Linked DNA regions of Homo sapiens: region 1 is linked to region 2. The links are contacts of gene promoters, found by promoter capture Hi-C in blood cells and fetal thymus (Javierre and others, 2016). All regions are on one chromosome and are shown on one strand. The core of a region is centred on a gene start or on the middle of the fragment in contact, and the rest is flanking DNA. Distances in the headings are between cores, read along the strand shown. Region 1 overlaps LOC105377675 (a long non-coding RNA gene). Region 2 holds the start of ADAM19 (ADAM metallopeptidase domain 19).

Evidence for each region. Contacts are between HindIII fragments. The CHiCAGO score rates a contact against its expected background, and 5 or more counts as called.
Region 1: a contact is called between a fragment that was not itself captured here and the fragment with the promoter of ADAM19 in region 2, in 4 of 17 cell types (naive B cells, total B cells, activated CD4 T cells and 1 more). The highest score is 8.7, in naive B cells.

Annotation. Positions count from the first base shown.
Region 1 is chr5:157,655,802-157,660,042 of GRCh38, forward strand. LOC105377675 (a long non-coding RNA gene) reads left to right here. Exons shown (of 3, transcript XR_941127.3): 2 at 2,050-2,210; 3 at 2,728-4,241. It also overlaps a transcript of SOX30 not described here. Among named protein-coding and RNA genes, the nearest start is that of SOX30, 5.5 kb to the left of the region's middle. The HindIII fragment of the contact is 8,214 bases long and covers 1-4,241 here.
Region 2 is chr5:157,572,941-157,577,455 of GRCh38, forward strand. ADAM19 (ADAM metallopeptidase domain 19) reads right to left here and starts at 2,835. Exons shown (of 23, transcript NM_033274.5): 1 at 2,663-2,835. The coding sequence starts at 2,756. LOC124901121 (a long non-coding RNA gene) reads left to right here and starts at 2,039. Exons shown (of 2, transcript XR_007059018.1): 1 at 2,039-2,430; 2 at 3,340-3,670. RefSeq lists enhancers at 1,531-2,060, 2,297-2,376, 4,234-4,515 and a silencer at 2,547-2,986. The HindIII fragment of the contact is 8,826 bases long and covers 1-4,312 here.

The DNA of each region.
Region 1 (4,241 bases), core at 1,257-3,756, 83 kb after region 2:
TTTTGATTAATGGAAGAAAGGATTTGTGAGGCTAGTCTTAAGCTGTAGCCAATCTGGTGTGTTTCCTGTGTCATTCTGTATTGTTCTGTCATAAAGAGGGGTACCTTAGGATAGAACATGGGCTTAGGACACCTATAAGCCTGCTGTTCAAGATGGCCCAGCAAACTGGTCAGTTAAAAACTTTGCTGCAGGTCCGTGAAAAAAACTGGATGAGGTTTCCCTCTTGTCTTGTATGTCCTTGGGAGCTTGACCTTGTAACCATGTGGCTGTGCTTTCTCTTTCACAGTGGTGGCCCGGGTTCAGGGTTCAATTCCCATCTTAGGAGATGAGTCCTTTATCTTTTGTCTGTGTATTTATGTGTATCATGTGTGTGGTGCTTGTATATAACAGAGGTTTGATTAATCGGTTAAAAATAATAAGTGCTTCAGTCATATTTTTGTGAGAAAAATTAAACATATAATGCCTTTTATATAGTTCATGTGACTTAAGTAATCTTTGGGAAATGAAGACAGTTTTAAAGATTATTGGTAAAATAAAAATATCTTAAAATGTAAACATTTGGTCTAAATTATGCAGGTCAGATATTAGGTTTGCTAAATGCTTTAAGTTCATAAGCTGCTGCTTTCACTTTTGAAAATTGTTTAATTTACCTACTTTGACCATATTAGAGTCTAGATAAGGCCTGGGGACATGTGATGTTAGCCATACCCCAAGCAATGCTAGAAAAAGTCAGACCTTATCTGCACTTCTGTCTGTGTCCTAGGCTGCACACCTAGTACATAATTAAAATGCTTACCAACCAGGGTTTTCACCAAAAGTAAAAATCGCTGAAAGTTAACATTGTAACATGTAATTGAGACTACTGAAGAATAGTTCTACACATAAGGTGTGTAAGGAAAGTGAAATGTGTTTTTGGTAAAAGATCATTAGAAGTCATGAGAATGTAAATTTTCTTCCTTAGATTAAATGGTTAAATTATTGTTTTAAGTTAGATAGAATGAAGCTGAAGGTTTAAGAAAGTTTTGGAAAGTGTGAAAAATTAATTGTAGGACATTCTGTGTGTGAATATATTAGTTAAAGTTAAAGGGGTATTCAGTTTTTCTATAAATTAAACATTGGAATAAAAGCACAAGTTTTTTTAGAGCAAAAACCTGCTATGATTTGCTCTTTAACAAAAATATGTAAAGGGTTATAAAAGGTTTGTGAGAATCTTACCTTATAGTCAAACTGATTAAGATTGAATACATTTGTCTATAAGGTTTTATAAAGAATTGGGTTTGTCATCAATAATGCACTAATGCAAGAGTCACATTTGGCTTATTTGGTACAAAAACCACACAGGAAGCATTATCAAATGTAAAATGGTGTTTGGATTTTTGGGGGCTGTAATTGTATAAATGTATTATTGGTATATATTGAAAATTATTTTTAAAAGTCTTATAATTCTGATATGACTTGGTGTATATTGTGAATAATTATAATTGTTACATAAAATCATTGTATACCACAGAAGGAAGCAAATTTCCTTATCAATTGAGACTTTAATAGTGGCTGTCCTAAGACTTTTTGTCATCCACACACAATTGTTGTCTTTTAATCCTCTTCAAAAGTTGGTTTATAATCAACTGTAGAACTCTAACAGGTGTTCTTAAATGCAGATTTCTGATAACTTTGGAAATTGTGATATTAAAATAAAGGAAAACACTTTCAGAATACTCATGGAGAGCTGAAATGTTCAGGAATATCAAGCAGAACAGAAGTTAACTGCATTGACTGAACTAATAGAAGACTAAAGTAATCATTTTAACTTTGCTTAAAATGCTGCTGATCCTTTGTTTTGTTTTTCAGAGTCAAGGAAACTTATCTTTTGAGCTATTTGCAGCTTGTAGCAATTGAGTAAAGTATATTGCTGTGAATAACATTTGAAGCATATTTAGTTCTCTCTACCTAATTTCTCCAGAATGTGGAAACTATTTGTGAGTATTCTTACATTATGGCAATATAGTTATTTGCATAAGTGCAATAAGAACCTCTTTTCTTTTGCAACAGGACACAATTGGAAACAGTGGTTATTTTACCAACGCTTTGACTGGAATGGCACGTTTTCCTTTAAGGAATCAAACTTGACTTGTAAAGCCAATAAAAGCCCCTTGGGGAATTGGCCTCAGACCTTGTCTACAACAGCCCCTGTACAGGGTTTCTGACCTGTGGTAAGTAAAGAATGTCACTTTCTACAGGTCCAGGATCCCCAGGTTATCTTGGGACCCCAAGAGGAGGGGAATTTACTCATCTCATAGGTATTTGAGGGTACAAACCTATGGCAGGGCTCAGCTCTGAAAAAGTCTTATCTGAGATTCTTTCTATGGAATAAAGTTGCATCAAAACCAATTTAAAAAGTGGTTATGTAAAAAATAATTATTCTCATTGCACTTTATACAACTAATCAGGCCAATTATAGTAAAGCAAATCAGTCTTACCGTGATTTGTCTTTAGTAAAAATGGGAAACTGGAGAGAGAAATTATGTTTCAGAAACTGTGGTACACTTGTTATTAAATTCTAGTCTCATCAGTTGTTTTTAAGTTTGTTTCTGCAATTTAGGCTAACCCTGCTTATTCCTCTGAACCAACTAGTGACATCTGACTGCTGCTCAGAAGAAACAAGAGGGATGGGTAATGTAAAAATCTAAATCAGTATTCTAATTCTGAGCACACTTATGAATCTTCCAGATATCACCTTTTGTCAAAACTCGGAGTTATGAATTGCCCTCGCCATACTGATGCTTTCTGACTGAGCTCCTCTCTACCCTGAATACAAGAGACTCTCATAGTTAAGCAAGAATATCATTGCTCCTATTCAGCATGAAGAAGTTACAGAAGATGGATTTTCAACCCTCTGCAACCCTTAGGATTAAAATTATACAAACCTTTAGGATTATAAAAGGGAGGGGGTAATGTCAGGCGTGTGAACCAGAGCAACTCCATTTTGAGTAGAAGCTGTGTAAAACGAGGCTGAAACCTACTAGGCTGCATTCCCAGACAGTTAAGGCATTCTAAGTCACAGGATGAGATAGGAGGCTGGCATAAAATACAGGTCATAAACAGCTTGCAGATAAAACAGGTTGCAGTAAAGAAGCTGGCTAAAACCCACCAAAACCTAGATGGTGACAAGAGTCACTTCTTATCATCCTCACTGCTACACTCCCACCAGTGCCATGATAGTTTACAGATGCCATGGCAACATCAGGACATTACCCTATATGGTCTAAAAAGGGATGCATGAATAATTCACCCCTTGTTTAGCATATCATCAAGTACTAACCATAAAAATGGGCAACCAGCACTCTGTCTATGGAGTAGCCATTCTTTTATTGCTTTACTTTCTTAAACGTGCTTTCACTTTACTCTGTGGACTCATCCTGAATTCTTTCTTGTGTGAGATCCAAGAACCTTCTCTTGGGTTCTGGACCTGGACCCCTTTCCTGTAACATCTTTCTGGTGACCCAGATGAGCCTATAGTGCAGATATTCCCAGTAAGTGCTAGGATCCTGTAACGTCTTTCTGGTGACCATGGAATGGTCCCACTATACTGTGGAAACCCCCAACTCAAAGGCTAACTTTGGGTAAGTGGTGGGGTCCAATAAGAAAGTTAGTGTTAATTTTGTGCAAGGTTTCAGTTCATATTCTGATTTCAGTTATCAAAATGTAATTGACAATAGATGCATGGGTGTATTTCTGAACTCTCTGTTCTGTTCCTTCCATTCCTTCCATCTATGTACTATAAACCAAAAGTATCTGAGGCAAGCCTTAATCAATTTAGAAGTTTATTTTGCCAAGGTTAAGGACATCCCCGTGACACAGCCTCAAGAAGTCCTGACAACATGTCACCAAGGTGGTCAGGCTACAGCTTGCTTTTATACATTTTAGGGAGACATAGGACATCATTCAATACTGTAAGATGTACATAGCTTCAGTCCAGAGAGGTGTGACAACTCAAATCAGGGCTTCCAGATCACAGGTGGATTCAAAGATTTTCTGAATGGCAATTGGTTGAAAGACTTATCTAAAGACCTAGAATCAACAGAAGGGAGTGTCTGGGTTAAGATATGGGGTTGTGGATACCAAGGTTCTTATTATGCAGATAAAGCCTCCAGATAGTAGGCTTCAGAGAATATCAGACCTAAAAAGTCTATTCTGTCAGTCTGAAAGTCGCTGTTTCTATGTTAATGCTGGTCAGCTGTGCC
Region 2 (4,515 bases), core at 1,585-4,084:
TCAGGAGGCTGAGGCACGAGAATCCCTTGAATCTGGGAGGCCAAGATTGCGCCAGTGCACTCCAGCCTGAGTGACAGAGCAAGACTCCATCTCAGAAATAAAAAAAAGACAAGCATCGCTCTTGCCCTGGTGGCTCTGATAAGTCTATATTATTTTAAACAAAAAGGAATTCTATAATATTTAATGGAGCATTTAATGGAATTAAATGATATCTACGATTGTAAAAAAATAGTGAAAGCAATCTAAAATCTCACCAAAAGAGGAACATAGTACATGTTAAGAAAAGGTCTCCAAAACTTGGAAATAAGGCAAGAGCAAGCAAGATGTCTTCTCAATGTTGTATCAGAGCATTGTTTAACAGACTCACCCATGGATTACTGCATTATCTAGGGGAATGTACCATTGACTTTTTATTTACCATTGATTAAAAGCTACACTCTGTGAAGTTATATAATCTATATATATCTATAGAATTCTGTCTGACAGAGATGTAAGTGATTTCAGCATAGTAAAAAGATAACCTGGCCAGGCACAATGGCTCACGCCTGTAATCCTAGCACTTTAGGAGGCCGAGGCGGGCGGATCACCTGAGGTCAGGAATTTGAGACTAGCCTGGCCAACATGGTGAAACCCCGTCTCTACTAAAAATACAAAAACTAGCCGGGTGTGGTGGCACATGCCAATAAGCCCAGCTACTCAGGAGGCTGAGGCAGGAGAATAGCTTGAACCCAGGAAGCAGAGACTGCAGTGAGCCCAGATCGTGCCACTGCATGCCAGCCTGGGCAACAGATAGAGACTCTGAAAAAAAAAAAAAGAAAGAAAAGAAGGAATGAAGGAAGGAAATTAAAAAAGAAAGATAACCAAGAATTATGGTTTGCTTCATGGGGCATCCACCATTTCTGCATCTGCCCTGGGCCACATGATTTCAACATTCTTTCTCCAATGCTTGTATCACCCCTTTCTAATGCTCCCTGAATCAGCTTTACTCTCCTGTTTGCTACCTCATTAATGAGTTGAATAAATCTTGGCCACATTTGTATGAGTCGTGTTTTTAACTTTTGAAAACTTTGTATAGAGTCATTAAAATCATGTTTTACAGAGAATTTGATGATGTGGAAAACGCTCATGGTGTGAAGTGAAAAACGCAAGACACGAAACTGTACTTATGGGTATGGTTCCAATTTTATCAATATATATCCATAGGAACACACAAAGAATGTGGAGGGGAAAAAAAACAAAATATCAACAGCAACTGTGGATTTGGGGGTTGCAGATCATTTTCTTTTACACTTTTCGTTATTTCCCAGATATTCTACAGCAAGTGTTCTCCAAGGACTCAAAACTCAGAGAAGGCGCCTGTGCTAGGAGCAGTAACTAGCTTTCCTTGTCTTTCTTCATGCTTTTCTCCTGCACTAAGCACTGACACAGGCCTGGTGCTACCCTAGAACCTCCTCTGTGCCTCAGTTTCCCCTTCGGAACAACAGCTCAAAGGGCGGTTCCTTTGAGCCCTTTGGGAGGACCGCCCGACCTCGGCCCCTGGAAGTTCCGAACTGTCGGAAGAGCTCTCAGCCTCTGGGTTTGAGGCGGCCCGGGGGTCCAGCCAGCCCACCCTCGCTCCGCCGGTGCTCGCTCTATTTGAAAACGCTGACTGTTGGTCCCCCAAGCAGCAGTCTGGAGTCAGCCCAGCCCGTCTGCAGCGGTGGAGCCAGGGCTAAGCCTTCTCCGGTCATAATGAGAGAACCCGGGCACCGCCCCCCGGGACCAAGCCTTCCGCGAAATCTGCTTATAGCCCCCGAGGGATGGAGCCGGGGAGGGGATTGGTGTCTGGGAAACTAGTCCTGAGAAACACGGACATCACCCGGCATCTTAGCTGGAAACATCGAGTCAGACCCCTTCGCTTCACAGAAGGGGAAACTGAGGACCAAAGAAGGCGGCCGTCGGGTTGGCGTGGAAAGAGAGCCCTGGTTTCCAGTGCCACCGCGGACCTCAACCCGTGGCGTGGCCTTGGGCAAGTCCTTTCCCTTTTGTGGGCCTCGGTTTCCCCATCTGTGAAATGGGTGCGTTTGACTTGGCCTTCAGTAGGGCTCCTGCCAGCTCGGGGATCCGAAGTGTGTGGCTGCAGATACCCAGCGAGCCATCCCCTAGCCAAGGCTACCACAGTCTGCCGCGGGCATTTTATGTCCTACCCCACCAGTGTGGCAGGCACCGAGCCTGGTCCCAGGAAGCCGCTCCCAGGCCACACGGGCAGGGCGCTCGGGATGCTCGGCGTTGGCGAGTGCAGCGGGCGGTAGAGAGAAAGACAGAGAGAGAGGCGGAGCGGACACGAGGGACCGTGAGAAAACGGAGGAGGATAAGCCCCGAGAACGGCGGAAAGAGAAGCCAAAAGCAGAAAAACAGAGGAAGGAGAAGGCGAGAAGGGAAGGCTAGCCAGTGAGCGGACCGGCTGTTTTCTGGCTGCGCCGGGTTTCCCCGACCTCTGCCACCTCCCAGGGCGCAGAACGTGGGAACAAAGCCCGGGCTCCCAGGCTGGGGACGGCGGGGGCGCAGGCCCCGCGGAGTTGCGGGAGGCGCAGGGGTCGCGGTCCCAGCGCTCCGGACCCGCAAGGCTACTCCCAGGTCTCCGGGCCACCCAGCCTCCATCCCCCCGCGCCTGGCCACTTACTTGTCCATCCAGGCTCCCGCGCCGCCCGCGGCCGGAGGGGCTGCAGGGCAAACGCCAGCAAGCAGAGCCGGGCGGCGCCTGCGCCCCCTGGCATGGTGGCGGCGGCCCTTAGCGCTCGGCGCTCACACGCCCTCAGCCATACCTGCCCACTGCCCGGCGGTGGAGGCGCGTCTGGAACCCCCCGGCTCGCCCCGCGCCTCCCCACCCGGCTCCCAGCCCTCTGCCGAGACGCTCCGCCTCCAGCCCCGCGGGCCTCCGCCAGGGGATGGAGGAGGGGAGGCTCCAGCCCGGAGGGGGCTGGAGGGAGGGGCCGGGGAGGAGCTGGCGAGACTCGGGGGAGCGGGGCTGGCTCAGGTGAGGGAGACCGCGGGGAAGGGAGAATCCGAGCCCCCCAGGAGGAGGGATTTGTGGTGGACGCGGCCTGTAGAGGGTCGGGGACTCGGGCTTCTAGGAGTTAAACTGGACCCCTCTCCGCACAGCGGCCCGTTTACTGTCCCGCACTGTGCCAGACGCCTTGGGTGACACTCAGAGGTGATTCACCCAGCGCCGTCCCCCGGGGGCCGCCACTCTCGGAGACAGGCTCAGAAAGAGTTAACCCAACCGCCAGGCACAAAGAACTAAGTGCTATATGGACTTCTTTTTTTTTTTTTTTTTTTTTTTTTTTTTTTTTTTTTAAGCAGGACACAAATCCAGGAGCCATTCCTTCTGCCTGGGAGGAGGGAGTGATGAAGACCAGAGGAATCCCAGAGGAGAAGCCATCTGAGATCGGGAGGAGGAGAAATGGAACATCAGGCGGAGGAAACAGCCCAGACAATCGCACTGGGACGTGAAAACCCTTGGGCTGCATGCGGGGAGAAAACCAGAATTGGGGATGGTTAGGGTTTTGGAGGGAAACACAGGGACATGTGACCAAAAATAATAATAACTACTGTTACTTATTGAGGACTTTCTATGTACTAGAATAAGAAAATCATGATAGCTAAGACTGATAAAACGCTAAGTGTCAAACGCTGTCTTCAGCACTTTACACATATTCACTTATTTAATTAATCGGAGAAAATAACTTTTATGAGCCAGGGACTCTGCATACATTATCTCTTTTCATTAGCCCAGTAATCCCATGGGGTAGGTACTAGTACTATCCCTGTTTTAGAAATGAGGAAATCAAACCTGAGAGGCTAAACCACTTGCCCAAGATTACACAGCTAATGTCAGTGCCTAGATTCAAACCCACATCCGTATAACTCCAGAGCCTGATGCAACACACCTTATTTTCCAGGTGGAGAAACTGATAATGAGAGAGAAATGACTTGCCTAAGATCCCTCAGCAAGTTTTAGCAAAGCCTCGTTGTAGAATCCCAGCCTCAAACCTCGTCCATCTGTTCCTTTTTCTGAGCCTCTTTAGTCAAACCCAGGTTGACTAGAGAAGTGCTAAGTGTTGGAGAGGGCGAGGCACTCCTGAAGATGATGGGTAGGTAGGTCTATCAAACCCTACTCATGGGCACCCATGAGGGAAATCAAATAAGTGGTTCTGGCCATTAATGTCGTTTGGGACTCCGTTAGTCTCCAGCTGCTGTAAAATTCGTATCTTTCTGTGAACCCGAAATATCTGAGATAGGTCTCAGTCAATTTAGAAGGTTAATTTTGCCAAGCTTAAGAACGTGCTCATGACACAGCCTCAGGAGGTCCCAACATGTGCCCAGGGTGGTGGGGGTGTAGCCTCCTTTTATATATTTTGGGGAGACATGAGACATCAATCAATATGTGTAGGATGTACATTGCTTCCGGTCCGGTAAGGCAAGACAACTCCAAGCTGCAGAAAGGGTGGTGCTTCCAGGTTATAAGTAGATAAG